Linked DNA regions of Homo sapiens: regions 2, 3, 4 and 5 are each linked to region 1. The links are contacts of gene promoters, found by promoter capture Hi-C in blood cells and fetal thymus (Javierre and others, 2016). All regions are on one chromosome and are shown on one strand. The core of a region is centred on a gene start or on the middle of the fragment in contact, and the rest is flanking DNA. Distances in the headings are between cores, read along the strand shown. Region 1 holds the start of TCERG1 (transcription elongation regulator 1). Region 2 holds the start of TCOF1 (treacle ribosome biogenesis factor 1). Region 3 overlaps RNF14 (ring finger protein 14). Region 4 holds the start of NR3C1 (nuclear receptor subfamily 3 group C member 1). Region 5 overlaps ARHGAP26 (Rho GTPase activating protein 26).

Evidence for each region. The method cuts DNA at HindIII sites, captures the fragments that hold promoters and counts their contacts. A CHiCAGO score of 5 or more calls a contact.
Region 2: the fragment with the promoter of TCOF1 here is called in contact with the fragment with the promoter of TCERG1 in region 1 in 1 of 17 cell types (neutrophils); the score reaches 5.1 in neutrophils.
Region 3: a fragment that was not itself captured here is called in contact with the fragment with the promoter of TCERG1 in region 1 in 2 of 17 cell types (total B cells and naive B cells); the score reaches 8.8 in total B cells.
Region 4: a contact is called between a fragment that was not itself captured here and the fragment with the promoter of TCERG1 in region 1, in 1 of 17 cell types (non-activated CD4 T cells). The highest score is 7.7, in non-activated CD4 T cells.
Region 5: a fragment that was not itself captured here is called in contact with the fragment with the promoter of TCERG1 in region 1 in 1 of 17 cell types (naive CD8 T cells); the score reaches 5.4 in naive CD8 T cells.

The regions. Positions count from the first base shown.
Region 1 is chr5:146,445,951-146,448,823 of GRCh38, forward strand. TCERG1 (transcription elongation regulator 1) reads left to right here and starts at 1,383. Exons shown (of 23, transcript NM_001382548.1): 1 at 1,383-1,458. The coding sequence starts at 1,400. RefSeq lists an enhancer at 1,046-1,753 and a silencer at 1,672-1,751. The HindIII fragment of the contact is 4,342 bases long and covers 1-2,873 here.
Region 2 is chr5:150,356,299-150,358,998 of GRCh38, forward strand. It overlaps TCOF1 (treacle ribosome biogenesis factor 1), which reads left to right and starts at 1,399. Exons shown (of 27, transcript NM_001371623.1): 1 at 1,399-1,556. The coding sequence starts at 1,449. LOC105378226 (a long non-coding RNA gene) reads right to left here and starts at 1,122. Exons shown (of 4, transcript XR_944407.3): 1 at 208-1,122. RefSeq lists an enhancer at 417-586 and silencers at 1,187-1,526, 1,607-1,826. The HindIII fragment of the contact is 5,465 bases long and covers 1-2,700 here.
Region 3 is chr5:141,970,155-141,972,854 of GRCh38, forward strand. RNF14 (ring finger protein 14) reads left to right here. Exons shown (of 9, transcript NM_004290.5): 2 at 550-723. Among named protein-coding and RNA genes, the nearest start is that of RNF14, 2.4 kb to the left of the region's middle. The HindIII fragment of the contact is 3,286 bases long and covers 1-2,700 here.
Region 4 is chr5:143,403,359-143,406,069 of GRCh38, forward strand. NR3C1 (nuclear receptor subfamily 3 group C member 1) reads right to left here and starts at 328. Exons shown (of 9, transcript NM_000176.3): 1 at 1-328. LOC128966704 reads right to left here. Exons shown (of 2, transcript XM_054328421.1): 1 at 1,976-2,711; 2 at 1,308-1,558. The coding sequence starts at 2,283. The coding sequence ends at 1,528. RefSeq lists a silencer at 1-1,223 and enhancers at 1,229-1,996, 1,274-1,343, 1,384-1,523, 1,924-2,163, 1,997-2,711 and 1 more. The HindIII fragment of the contact is 7,002 bases long and covers 1-2,711 here.
Region 5 is chr5:143,002,619-143,005,479 of GRCh38, forward strand. The region is part of intron 11 of ARHGAP26 (Rho GTPase activating protein 26); the gene reads left to right. Among named protein-coding and RNA genes, the nearest start is that of ARHGAP26-AS1, 140 kb to the left of the region's middle. The HindIII fragment of the contact is 2,293 bases long and covers 412-2,704 here.

The DNA.
Region 1 (2,873 bases), core at 133-2,632:
GCCACAGCCTCCCGAGTAGCTGGGACTACAGGCGCCCGCCACCACGCCGGGCTATTTGTTTTTAGTAGAGACAGGGTTTCACCGTGTGAGCCAGGATGGTCTTGATCTCCTGACCTCGTGATCCGCCCGTCTAGGCCTCCCAAAGTGCTGGGATTACAGGTTTGGGCCACCGCGCCCGGCCTATACCATGCTTCTTAACCATGCATCAGCTGATGGTCATTGGGTTGTTACAATACTTTTTGGCTATTATGAATATTGCTGCTGTGAACATTTGTGCACATGTTTTTATGTGGATCCAATTATTTAGGCTTACAGTATTTAAGAGTGCTGCTTTGCTACTACGCTGACTGGGGTTAAGACCAGGCTCTGCTATTTAGTAGATGTGTGACCTTGGGCAAGTTACTTAACTTCTCTGTGCCTCAAGCTCATCTACAAACAGTGACTATGTTACCCACCTCCTAGCAATTTTTGAATCTTAAAAGAGTTAACGTACCTGACATACTTAGATCCGGGTTTGCTACATGGTTAGGTCCAAGTAAAATTTATCTATTAGTATTATTTTAATATTTTTACGACTTTAATAAAAGGGCTCATCTTCATTGTGCCTTTGAAACCCCAAATCCAAAACTTTTTTTTTTGTTAATTAGAAAAACTAAATAAATATTCAGAATTGTCTGGTATTCTGGGTGTGCTAATTTCAGACAAGCACATTTTGAGATCGAGGGAGACGTGGTTAAGCTGTAAATTGCAAAGAGGCTTGCCTTCGCCAATTTACCTTTCTTAATGCAGCAACTTATAACACCTATTGGCTTGCAACGGTTTAGTATAATTTGGGAGGTATTCTTGTAATTAATAATATATTATTTAATAACATGGATATAGAGCTGAGTGGTGACTTAAGACTCCTGCTACTGTAAAGCTAGGAAATAGCGGCTTTCCACAGCAACTGTGCAATCGGTTTAGGCGCGGCCCAGGTCGATTTTGATTGGCTTGCCCAGTGGAAATGCTCTCCGCCTGAGCTACTACTGGCCAATATGGCTCCACAATTGGCTCTCCTGGAAGCCGACAGACACGTGGCTACCGCAGGCTGAGCCGAACTTGGGAGGACTTAGTTCTGCTTACCGCGAGAGGGCGCCGGCGGTTCCTCACTGCTAAAATCTCATTTCCCATAAAGCCCCCGAGTCACCAATCAACTGGCTGTCTTCATACCGCTTTCAAAGTCGGCGGGCGCCTTGCCCAATAGCAAAGAACATATCGCCCCCATTTCGAAGATTGATGGAAAGTTTGACCAACCGCATCTCAGACTTCTGCTGTCTCCGCCTCTCTCGTTGGGGATTGACGATTTTTCTAGCCAATAGGAGACGTCGGGTCGGCGGGTGGATGAACGCGGCCCTCTGTAATGGCGGAGCGTGGCGGGGACGGGGGCGAGAGTGAACGATTCAACCCGGGGGAGCTCAGGTAAGGAACGCTGCCCTCCTTCACATCTCTGCTCACGAGAGCCCCAGAGGCTAGACGCTAGACCTGCCATGTGGAGATCCGGGGCGGACGGTGGGTAGCGGAGCCGGGCGGCCCGGGCCGGGACCGCATGGGGTTTAAGAAGGGGGAAGGGGAAGGTGGCTTGAATGAGAGCCGGGCCCGGGCTGGGCCAGGGCCTCCTGCGCGTTCCCTGGCTGCTTCCTAGTGCTTTCTTGGGGCCTCGCCGCCTCTCGCGGCCTGCAGCCCTCTGGCCGGGCGCGGTGCTCCCGCCTTTGGGCCCCGCCTCAGCCGCGTGTCGCCTCCGTCTCGGCCGACCTGAGTCTGTCCCCAGGCCGCGCTCCGCTGCGGGCCTGATTTTCCTCATCGACGTCTCTGCACTCCGCAGTTACTTTCCCTGTACCCCTCGCCACTTCTGGCTAAGCCTTCTCCACGCCCTCCGCGGCTCTTTGGGCTCCCCACGTTTGCCCTTTCATTTCATCCCCCTCATTGCTTGCCTTTCTTAACTTCTGTGGCTTTTCTTCCTTTTTTCATCCCTTTATTCCTTATTATCCTGTAGTTGTGAGTAACAACAACAGTAGCAACCCCTTATTAGGCACTTACCGTGTGCCAGTAAACCCTTTACTTAGGTTTGTCTCATTTAATCCTCACAACCACCCTTTGGAGTAGTTGCTATTAACATTTTGCAGGCCACAGACCAGAGGGGTCTTCAGTTGTTACTCGCCCATCTTACAGGTGAGATAACAGCCTCGTGGAGGTTGAGTCAGTAGAATAAGATTGCATAGGCGGATTTGTGGCTCCAGGAAGTGGCTTGAACTCAGGCAGTCAGGTTTCAGAGCCTGCAATCCCAATTGGCGTTCTATTCGTCTACTACTCATGCCATTTCCTTGAACAGTGCAGTGACCTTTTTTTCCCCTGGAACCTCAGTGTCTATGAGTTTGTAATTAAAATTTGGTAAAATGAGAGTGACCTGGAGAAATCTTTTGGTCAGTGGTTTTTGAGGAAAAGAGGTATTATGCTTTATGTGTATTTGGTACTTTGGTTTTTTTCTGTATGGGAGAAATGGCATTTCAGATGTTCAGCTCCCATTCTGAATTGTGCTGTTGTCAACGTTTGAAAATGAAAAAGAGCAGGGTAGATTATGAAGACTCTGTTGATACTGTCTTGAACTTAAGATGAAATTGTGTAAGGAAATGGGTATTGTTATTCAAGGTTTTAGAAGAGGAAAATGCCTTTCAGATTCTGTATGGTCGCACACACAAATCTCCACTTTGGCAGAAATGAAATTTTGTTTTATTTCAGAGATGAATCTGAAATCCTTTAAACTCCATATGTATACAGTATTAATGAGTGATCAAGGTGAATTGTCAGCATCTTTAAATATTAGCGATGCCAAGTTT
Region 2 (2,700 bases), core at 149-2,648, 3.9 Mb after region 1:
TTAGTATGTGTCTCCTCCGTTAGACTGTAAGCTCTATTGGAGTAGAGACAATTCCATCACTAGACTGTAAGCTCTATAGGAGTAGAGACTATTCCATCCCCAATGGTAGGTACTCAATAAATATTTGCTCAAGAAAATGGGAAATGTTGAATGTGTACAGACACATAACATTTTCCATTCAAGTTCAAGACAAAGATAACCACATACCTGGACCTCCTAGGGTTAGGGACTCCTGCGCCCGTAAGAAACATGCTGCCCTCAGATTCTCAATGGGTCGGTGAAGTTAAGAACAGCTCACTCTAACATTCTCCAGCCTACCTCACCTTTTCCCTGCCATCCTTCCCTCAACAACTACAACAGCCTCACATTTAGTATTAATGGTATGTGCTTTGGTTTTAGCAATCTTTTAAAAACACAAAACAGGGTCAACCTCCTCGGAAAAGCCAGTCAGAGACTATCTAATGCCCTCAGAGCAAAGTCCAAACTCTGTTGGGGGTGGGGGAGTTGTAGGCCTTGTCTACTTCTTCATCCTCATGTGCCCTCATTTGTTCCCTCTTCCCCACCTCACCCCACCCCACCTGGACAGCCCAGCAGCGCAGACTAGGGGTTCTGGGTTTAGGGTTCCCAGGCAATAGCAGGGTGTTTTCTCATGCCTAGACTCATGCAGTGCCCTCTGCCAGTCCTCTCCTTTGCACCCAGCAATTTCGGGTGTCTTTATGCCTCAGCTTAGATATCTCTCTGGGGTTCGGTGCTCCTCCTTGGGGCGCCCATAGGCTGCATCTGTCCCTGACAAGGCACACAAGATATTGAACTATAGTTGCTTGGTTACGGACAGTCGTCTCTGTGAGCTTTGAGGGCAACTGCCATGTATTATGCATCTTTTGAATCCCCCTAGCCTAGCCGGGTGCTAGCCCAAGTTAGGTGCTTATTACAGATTTGTTCAGTTAGCGAATGAATCAATGAATAAACTGGCAATTCGTGTCTGGTTCATGGGCACCAAAAACCGTGCGAAATGGATAAATGAGCAGGTAATGGCAGTACAAAGTTCGGATCTAGAGAAAGATCCAGATTAGGGAGTTCAGAGATGAGTAAAACGCAGACCCAGCCATCAGAGAATTAACAAGGAAGATAAATCTCTTCAAGAAGCCAGCCGGAAGGATTAAAAGAGAGTCGTCCAAGTCCCGGCCGGCCCCGGGGGCGGGTCCCTGTCTAGCCCCGCATGCTCCGCGCCAATGGGCGGTATTGTTGATCACGAGTCTCCGCCCCCTTCGCCTTGAGGGGCGGGGCCGGCCACTCCCGGAGAGGGGACTACGTTTCCCGGCGCGCCGCGCGGCCGGAGCGAAAGAGGAGCCGGAAGTGTGGCGCGCGAGGTCTAAGGGCGCGAGGGAAGTGGCGGGCGGGGACTAAGGCGGGGCGTGCAGGTAGCCGGCCGGCCGGGGGTCGCGGGTATGGCCGAGGCCAGGAAGCGGCGGGAGCTACTTCCCCTGATCTACCACCATCTGCTGCGGGCTGGCTATGTGCGTGCGGCGCGGGAAGTGAAGGAGCAGAGCGGCCAGGTAAGCGTTCGTGGGCCGTGTGCGAGGGCCGCGTGCAAGATGTGGAGATCAGCGGCCCGCGGCCCGCGCCCCGTCCCCAGGCGACCCGGCAGGCGCCCGGAGCCGGGTCCCGCAGTGCTCGACGGCGCGGCCAGGGGTACCGGAGGAGCCGCAATCTCTGCCTTCCCACTGCGACTTCAGTTCCCCTGGGCCTCACTTTCCTCATCCGGGCAGTGGGTTGGGCCAGAAAGTGTGCTCGCAGGGGCCGAACTTTGTAATTCCCGCTTCCCTTACCTCCACGCCCTTCCTGGTAGCGGGTATTTTAAGTTTCCTAAGTCTCCCGCCACGTGGCTAGGCTCTGCGCGGCCCCCCCTGGGGCAAGGAGGTTGCTGCGAGTCTCGGGGGTGGATTGCGACCAGCCCCTCGGGGGAGCGCCTGGAAAAGGGACCCTACAGCCTCTTAGTTGAGCTGGAACTCAGGCCTTTAGCGATTGTCTGTACTGAGACGGTCAGCTTTGGTACTCGAACTCGTGGTACAGTCATTTCTTACTTGATTAATTCAACTGTTAATCCGGTACTCAGGGTGCTTCCTGGTGTTCGAATGGTGAGCACCATCTCTCAGCCCTCCTGGAGCTTACACTCTAGTAAGGTAGACAAATCAAAGAATCACAAAAGTGACTATATGCTTAGCACCGCAATAAGTGTTAAGAATGAGAGGGATGGGCCGGGCACGGTAGCTCACGCCTGTAATCCCAGCACTTAGGGAGGCCGAGACTAGCGGATCACCTGAGGTCAGAAGTTCGAGACCAGCCTGGCCAACATGGTGAAACACCGTTTCTACTAAAAATACAAAAATTAGCTGGGCATGTTGGCGCACGCCTGTAATCCTGGCTACTCATGTGGCTGAGGCACAAGAATTGCTTGAACCCGGGAGGCAGAGGTTGCAATGAGTCAAGATCGTGCCACTGCACTCCAGCCTGGGCGATAAAGCGAGACTCTGCCTCAAAAAAAAAAGAGAGATGGATGGCAGATTGCCCTGGTCAGGAATAGCTGAGGTGTAAATGCCTTGTGGTGGGAGGGAACTTGTGTACACACTGGCCTGGAGAAAGTCCACTCTCTTGAGCCCAGGAATTTGAGGATACAGTATGAGCCATGATCATGCCACT
Region 3 (2,700 bases), core at 164-2,663, 4.5 Mb before region 1:
AGACCACACTCCCTTTTCCCCTCACCCCAGTGAAGAAGCCTAGCTCTAAAGCATTTAGAATAAAACTTAAAAGTTTGTGTTTGTGTACTCTTGTTTTGTTTAAGTATTTTTCTGTTACCAAAATTAACCTTGAGTGCCACTGGCAGGCTTAATTCATGAACAAGAGAGGAAAAACTGGAGGGGAGTGGCAAATGAAGGAATACAAGAAGCAGAAGAGGAAAGGAGAAAAAAACAAAACAAAAAACAAACTGAAGAGATTGTTTGTTATGGGGCATGGTGTCCTGTACTTTCATATGACCTTGGTGTTCCTCCTTAGCTCCTCCCATAGCTGAGGGCAGACAGATAAAAAGTCCTCAGTCATTGCTGGGGACATGCAAATACTCCTTTAACCACATGGCTCAGTTAGCCTGCCCTAGGAGAGTAACATGCACTTGTAGATTAGGATTGGCTATATGTTAGGATATGTTTGACTTAAGCAGTGATCATGGAAATTCAGAATTTTAATTTGGAGAGGGTCCTAACACCATCTTTTGTATTTCTTTTCTGCAGATGGCAGGATTTTCATAATATATGTAGTATGAGTTCCACATCTTGGCCTCTTACCCAGCTTCAGCAGTCTCAGCTCCACCAGTTAGAGAATAAATGGGATTTGCATGAACTCCACTCTGAGCTGAAATACAGACTGCGGTGTTAATATCCTTTTCTTCTGATTGTTATTAACAGGTACTAACTGACCTCAAGTAGAACATGTAATTGTGTCTTAGATAGGGATGCAGCTTAAGCAGAGCCATGAACTAACATCTCCTAGAAAAAAAGTGTTTTTTGAAAATGAAATCATTTTTAATTTCATAGTATGACCTTTTAAAATGTAAAAAATCCTAACTTTTTACTTATGTACATTTTAATTAAAAATATTTTAGTTGTGAGGGAGGATATTTGCAAATGCAATTGTAGTTCAATATTTTAATTGACTGGTAGTTTTGTTTTATTAAAATGATTTTTGTAAATTCTCATTGCATATTTTTTTCACATTTAAATTATCTGAAATTGCTGTATCTTTCAGTTGATGCTATTTTAAAAAACATTGATTCATACTTTATTTTTTGAGACAAGGTCTTGCTCTGTCCCCCAGGCTGGAGTGCAGTGGTGCAAACACGGCTCACTGCAGCCTCAGCATCCAAGGCTCAAGCGATCCTCCTGCCACAGTCTCCTGAGTAGCTGGGACTACAGGCACACACCACCACACCTGGCTAATTTTTTATAGAGACAGGATCTTGCTATGTTGCCAAGGCTGATCTCAAACTGCTGGCCTCAAGTGATCCTCCTGCCTTGGCCTCCCAAAGTGCTGGGATTACGGGCATGAGCCACCATATCCAGCCAGTTCATACTTTAATTGTAGCTAATTTCTTTTTCTTTCTTTCTTTCTTTCTTTCTTTCTTTCTTTCTTTCTTTCTTTCCTTTCTTTCTTCTTTCTTTCTTTCCTTTTTTTTTTTTTTTTTTTTTTGGAGACAGAGTCTGTCTCTGTCACCCAGGCTGGAATGCAGTGGTGCAATCTCAGCTCACTGCAACCTCTGCCTCCTGGATTCTAGTGATTCTCTAGTCTCGTGCCTCAGCCACCGAGTAGCTGGGATTACATGCGTGTACCACAATGCCCGGCTAATTTTTTTATTTTTAGTAGAGATGGGGTTTTGCTGTGTTGGCCAGGCTAGTCTTGAACTCTTGGCCTCAAGTGATCTGCCTGCCTTGGTCTCCCAAAGTGCTGGGATTAAAGACTTGAGCCACTGTGCCTGGGCCTTGTAGCTAAATTCTTAGTATTACCTAAAATAATGGTAAATCTTTCTTAAAATTATTATCTTTTAAATATTCTTGAGTCATAATGGTGAATCTTTAAATTGGTGACTGCTTGGATTTGACAAAATCTATTATTTCAAAAATTTAATATTATTTTGCTGCTTGCTCAGTTATCTAATTTTCTTCCATAATATCTATGCCTGTAACATTCTCAAGCACTGTTTTCTCACCTGGGAGCAATTTTGCCTCCAACCCCCATCCTGCCCCAGGACCTGGCGCTATTTGGAGATATTTTTTTTTTTGAGACAGGGTCCCACTTTGTCACTCAGGCTGGAGTGCAGTGGTGCTATCATGGCTCACTGCAGCCTCGACCTCCCAGGCTCAAGTGATCCTCCCATGTCAGCTCCCCAAGTAGCTGGGACCACAGGCAAGCACCACCACACCTGGCTAGATATTTTCAGTTGTCACAGCTCTTGTGGGTGGAAGCGGGCCACTATTGGGTATCTAGTGGGTAAAAGCCAGGGGATGCTGTTAAGATTCTATAATGCACAACACAGCTCTCCAACAACAATTATTTACTTCAAAATGTCAATAGAGCTGAAGCTAAGAAAACTTGCCCTAAAGATTCCTGTGGATTTAAAAAATTTACTTTTTTGTTTTTTTGAGACAGAGTCTGACTCTGTCGCCCAGGCTGGAGTGCAATGGTGCAATCTCAGCTCACTGCAACCTCTGCCTCCCACGTTCAAGCAGTTCTCCTGCCTCAACCTCCCGAGTAGCTGGGATTACAGGGGTGAGCCACCACACCCAGCTAATTTTTGTATTTTTAGTAGAGATGGGGTTTCACCACGTTGGCCAGGCTGGTCTCGAACTCCTGACTGCAGGTGATTTGCCCGCCTCGGCCTACCAAAG
Region 4 (2,711 bases), core at 1-2,500, 3.0 Mb before region 1:
TGGGTGGGGGGAGAGCCCCTATTTAAGAAAGTCTCCCATTGCCCAGCTGACAAGCCAGCCCTCCGCCCCGCGCCGGGCTCCGCGGGTCGAGGTTCCGGGCGCGCGTGCCCCGTCCCGGTCCCAGCTGCTTCGGCCGCTCCGGCTGCGGCGTCTCCTTCCACCCACAGAATCCGTCCCCGACGGGCAGGCGGTGACTCGGGCTCCCGTCACAGACACGAGCTCGCAAAATGGAGGAGGCGGCGGCGGAGGGAAGAGAGCGCGGACACGCGAAAGGGCAGCCCGGCCTGGGCGAGCGAGCGGGACCGAGCGGGGAGCGGGTGGAGGCGGCGCCACGGCGCGCACACACTCGCACACACGCGCTCCCACTCCACCCCCGGCCGCTCCCCGCCCGAGGGGCCGCGCGGCGGCCGCGGGGAACGATGCAACCTGTTGGTGACGCTTGGCAACTGCAGGGGCGCCCGCGGTCCCTGCCCCCACGCCCTCCGCGCGGGCCCCGCCACCCCGGCCCCGACGGCGCCTGCACGCCCGCGTCCCCTGGCGTGGCCGCCCCGCCCGGTGCGCCGCGCTTCGCCCCCCGCCCCCAACTCCCCAGGAAAAAGGGTGGCGGCGGCAGCGGCGGGGGCCGACCTGGTCTCTCTGGGGCGGCGTTAAGAGGGCCACCGAGTTTCTCCAGTTTCTTTTCTCGCTACCTCCTTCCCGCCCCCGCCCAGCTCCGCGGCTCCAGACCCACTCGGGAGCTCGCTCTGCCCCTTGGCGGCAAGCGCCGCCAGTGCCCCTGCGGGTGACAGCGGGCGGGCCACAAGAGCCGGGGCGCCTCCCGCGGCTGAGCTGCGTGAGTGGCCCGCGCCGCCGCCGCCGGGCCGAGTTGCGTGAAGTGTGTCACTTCGAAAGGGGCTACGGGGTTGCACGGAAACGGTGCCGCAGCGTCTCGGCCGCGCTCGGGGCCGGGCGGCCTGACACGCCCTCTGGGGAGGCTTCAGGGAAGGGACGGGATAGCGGGGGTCGGCGCATACGTACTTTGGGCCCGGGGGGAGTCGCGTGCCGGCAGGTCCCCCACCACCGCATCATCTGGGCGGCCGGGTCTTCAGCTGCCGCCGCCGCGCTCTCGCACTGGGAGAGAAGTTGCAAAGCAGAACCCACCCTCCCCCGCGCCCCGACCGTCCCCCACCCTCTTCCCCGAGTCTGCGAGGCGGCGGCGGCGGCAGAAGGAGGCGCCGCCTGCCAAGTTCAACCCCCACCCCTCCCGCCCAATGTGCTCACACTCGAAGGAAGTTGCACGCCAAATGCAAAACCTCCAGCGAGCTGGATTTCTTTGCACTTTTTTTTTATTATTATGATTAAGGAAAGCAGGGGGCGGCAGGCTTAAAAGCAAGTTGCAGGCGAAATAGTAAGTTGCTGGCGAAATATAGCCCCCCTTCCGAAACTCCTGACCTCTTCTTCCACCCCGGCCAGGGCCCGCGTCCAAGTTCCCGGTGCAGGCCCCACCCCCGAATCTTGACATTTGCTGCCCTCGACTCTGTGCGTTGCTCACCCTATCACGTTCATAGGACCCCTGCCCCTACAAATAAAACAAAATACAGGCAGCTTTAAAATGCCAGCGTTCAACTCCCTACAGATGTTCCTGTTAGGAGCTTCCCCCTCAGTCCAAGGGGAAGGGAACTCGTGGTCCGTCCTGAGAAAGGAGAGGGCCGTGGGGCGAGGGGTGCCCGTGCGGGAAGCCCCCGCCCCAGCTCCCTTCCCCAGCTCGCCGCGTCGGGAAGGCTTGGACGATGCCGGGACCGAGCCTCCTACCTTGTGCGGCACAGATTATGATTTTTGTGACTCTGGGAAAGGTTGTGCTGTGTGGGTTTAGGGTTTGGGGAGGTAACTTTTGCGCCCCCACAGGTGACATCGCTTGCCAGCTCCTGACACGGGCGGGGGCTGCCGCAGCTCCACCTAATCCTGCTCGGGCGCTCGGCCACAGCCACTCTCTCACCTCCCGCCGCGCTCAGACTGACGGCGGCTCCCCCTGCTCTGACATCTTGAAGACGATTGGGGAAGCGCGTCCCGGAAGCCGCCCGCCGCCATCTTGGTAGGGTACAGTGTCGCCAGCCCGTCCCCGCGGCCACCATCTTGGCAAAGGTTCGCGATCGCGGGTAGCCTAAGCCGTCCTTCCTTGGTTCTCAAGGGTAAACGGTTCCCTGTGCATTGTCTGATGTGAAAGGAAAGAAGTAGGCTTTCAGCAAGCCTCTTGTCCGGAGACGATCTACGGGGGCCGCCTCCAGAGGATTCTGGAGCCGCCATCTTGGCAAAGGAAGAGATACTCGCCACCTCGGAAAAGAAGAGGGAACCAACCGTATGCCAACGTAGAACCCTCAGCCAGAAGAATTTTTATGAAGGGCGCTGAGCAACTCCATGTTAACAAAACCCCCTTCTGGACCCAGAAGGCAGACTCCGCTTCTCCTGTCCCTTGGCACAAGTCAACTAGAAGGAGGCCCTTGCTTTGGATGCTCATCTGTGAGGCTATGAGAACACTGCTTGACCTAGTTGCCCGTTTTTCCAATTTCTGAGCCTCAAGCACTAGAATGAGATGTCTTTCGTTAATTTGGCCCCTAAACTACCAACAGTTTCATGGGAAACAAATCAAGACCCAACCCTACAATAATGTTTTACACGTTTTAAAAGTGAGTTAAATAGCCCATGCTAATAATTATCCTTGTACACTGCTTAAA
Region 5 (2,861 bases), core at 308-2,807, 3.4 Mb before region 1:
TGCACGCCATCTACTTAACTGTCATGCACTTGATAGCAAATGAGCTTTTGCCCTTTCTGCTGCCTTTAAAAATTTCCTGAAACACTTTTCTGACTTGTACATTACTTAGATTTCTTTCTTCCTCTTTTGCATCCAGTTTTTGTTTATGTTGGCTGTGACTCCAATCTTCGGTTGAAAGCTAGGGAAGTTGCTTATAAAGGTTTTCAGGATTGCTGAATATGAAATGCAAGGAAATTGCATAACATTGCAGCATTTCCTCCTCTTGTTGCTTGCTTGTTACCCAAAATACAGTAGTTCCTTCTAGAAGCTTGAAGAAATTTGGCAGATCCTACCCTCTGATGGTCTATTGTGGTCTAGAGAGTCAGTGTTATCCTGATTTGAGGTTGAATTTTTCTTAAGGTCAAACAACAAAGCTTCCTGAATTATAACTATGGCAACAGTGTTTATGTAACACACAAATCAAAGTCACGGGGTAGCGGAGGAGAAGCACCCACAACAATCAGTGTTAATAATCCCAGAACAGTTAGCCTGTGCCTAATTCACCAGAACCAAAAACAAGTTAAAATAAATGGCCTACTCCTTCACTGGTTATTGGGGTGTGACCTACCACCTACATGCTCCAGGAGGAGCTGTTTCACCTTTTCTCTTGAAACTATATCAGCTTAATTTGAAATTTCTCACAGAGAACTGCGGTAAGTGCCAGTGACACTCAAAATGTGAAAGCATTGCCATAAGGATAATTTGCTCATCAAGGTCATCATGACCTGCCTCTGACCTGCAGAGAAAGACCCAGACGAAGGAATGCGCATCCTTAAGCCCCTTGTCCTTTAATGAGGAATAATTTCTTGGACACTGAATATATGCAAACATTTAGATGCCGCATAGATCACTTCCCCTAAACCCTGCCCCATAGAAATGTAAAATTAACCTTGATTGGAGATTGGAAATGATAAGAATGAAAAATTTTATTTGGAAGTATTAAATTCTGTAGAATATAGACTGTAGGAGCAGTAAGAGATCAAAGAAACGAGAGATTAAGGTTGTCTGCAGCCATCAAGTAAGTTAGGAAATATTTGTGGAGTAAGGAAAAGGGAAATAACGTTTTTGAGCACCTCCAGTCCCTGTGATAACTATTTTAAATTCTGTTAATACTCTCATAAGTATTATTACTTAGCTCTACTTTGCAATGAGAAAGCAGACTCGGAAATGTTGAATGATTATCTAAGGGCGCATAGTTCAAAAGTGGTAGAACCAGGTGACAAAATAAAAACTTCATCCAGATTAAATTTAAAGGAGTTTAATTGAGCTATGAACAATTTGCGAATTGGGCAGCCCCCAGAATCACCACACATTCAGAGAGACTCCAGGGATGCCTCGTGGTCAGAACAAATTTATAGACAAAAAAAAAAAAAAAAAAAAAGGAAAGTGACGTACGGAAATCAGAAGTAAGGTACAAAAACAACTGGATTGGTTACAGCTTGGTGTTTGCCTTATTTGAACATAGTTTGAACACTCATCAGTGTATAAGTGGTTGAGGTATGGCTGCTGGGATTGGCCAAGACTCAGCTGTTGTTATAGGTAAATTTTCCTAAGTTAGGTTTTCAACCTTGTCTACCTATTAAGTTAGGTTACAGTTAGTCCACAAGGACTCAGATATAGGAGCATGGAGTCCTTCTCAGGCCATATTTAGTTTGCTTTAACACAGACCTTAATGCCAAGTTTCCAAAGCCACAGCATGCTCCATCCACCACTTGACTCAACTTCATCCAAATCCATTTCTCCCTGTTTTGGAATCTGTCCAGGGCCTATACCAGTGAAAGGGTTAGGCTGACAATGATTAAACCCCAAATGCAGCGAAATTAATCAGCCCAGGAATGCCCGGGATGCCTTCTAGACAGAAGGGGGCTTAGGTCTGTGTGTAAGAGGATGCTGGGTCAGCCTCCTGCTTTAGTGGACCATGAAGAGCTCCTGTCAGTCATTTATGTTCGGCTGAAATCTGCCTTCCTGGGGACTCCACCCTGACCTTCATCTCTGTTCAGCACAATAAGATTTCCCCTTTGTCACATCACTGCCCTTTGAGAATCTGAAGACTGGTATTGTGATGTTTTGAAGCCTTCTCTTCTCCAACCAACACTGTGGTTTAGGGAAACACATCTTGCAGAGCAAGTGAGCAGAGCCAGAGGGTGGAGCCAACAAGAACCAGGATATAGCCAATGTCAAGGTCTAGGTGAGAAGGCAAAAACAATCTGACCTTGGGCAATAGAAGAAGAAGTGGGGATGAGGAATAGGTTCAAGACATATGAAAGTAATAGAAGTGATACAACTAGGAACTGATTGGATATGTGAGGTAGAAGGAATGGGAAATTCAAGGATGACAGCACAGTTTCTCGTTCAACTTTGTTGCACATTTTTCTCCTTCACTCTAGAGTTCCCTATAAAGCACAAGTAGGCTTTTCTGTCATGCACTTAAAAAAAAAATTACCACAACCCTTGTCTGTGAGCAACAGAAACACAACTAAAAAATAAAAAGTATGTTATTGATATACTATAGAAAGAGCAGGGATGAGCTTCTGATATGTTAAGATAAAAGGGCTCAAATGATACCATCAGAATCCCATGTCCCTTCATTCATGGCCCTGCATTTCTTTGTTTGACCTTTTCTGCTCAAGGCTTTGCCTGTGTGGTAGCCGAAGTTGGCCTCAAAAGCTTCAGGTATGCATCCTGTTTTCCTAGCAACACAAGGCCTCATTTCCCATAGTTGTAATAAAAAATGAGTGAGTGTCATCGGCTGAGTTTGGCTTGGGCCAATCATATGTGCAGTAGGATGCATAGTCTGGATCACATGCAACAAACCTGAAGAT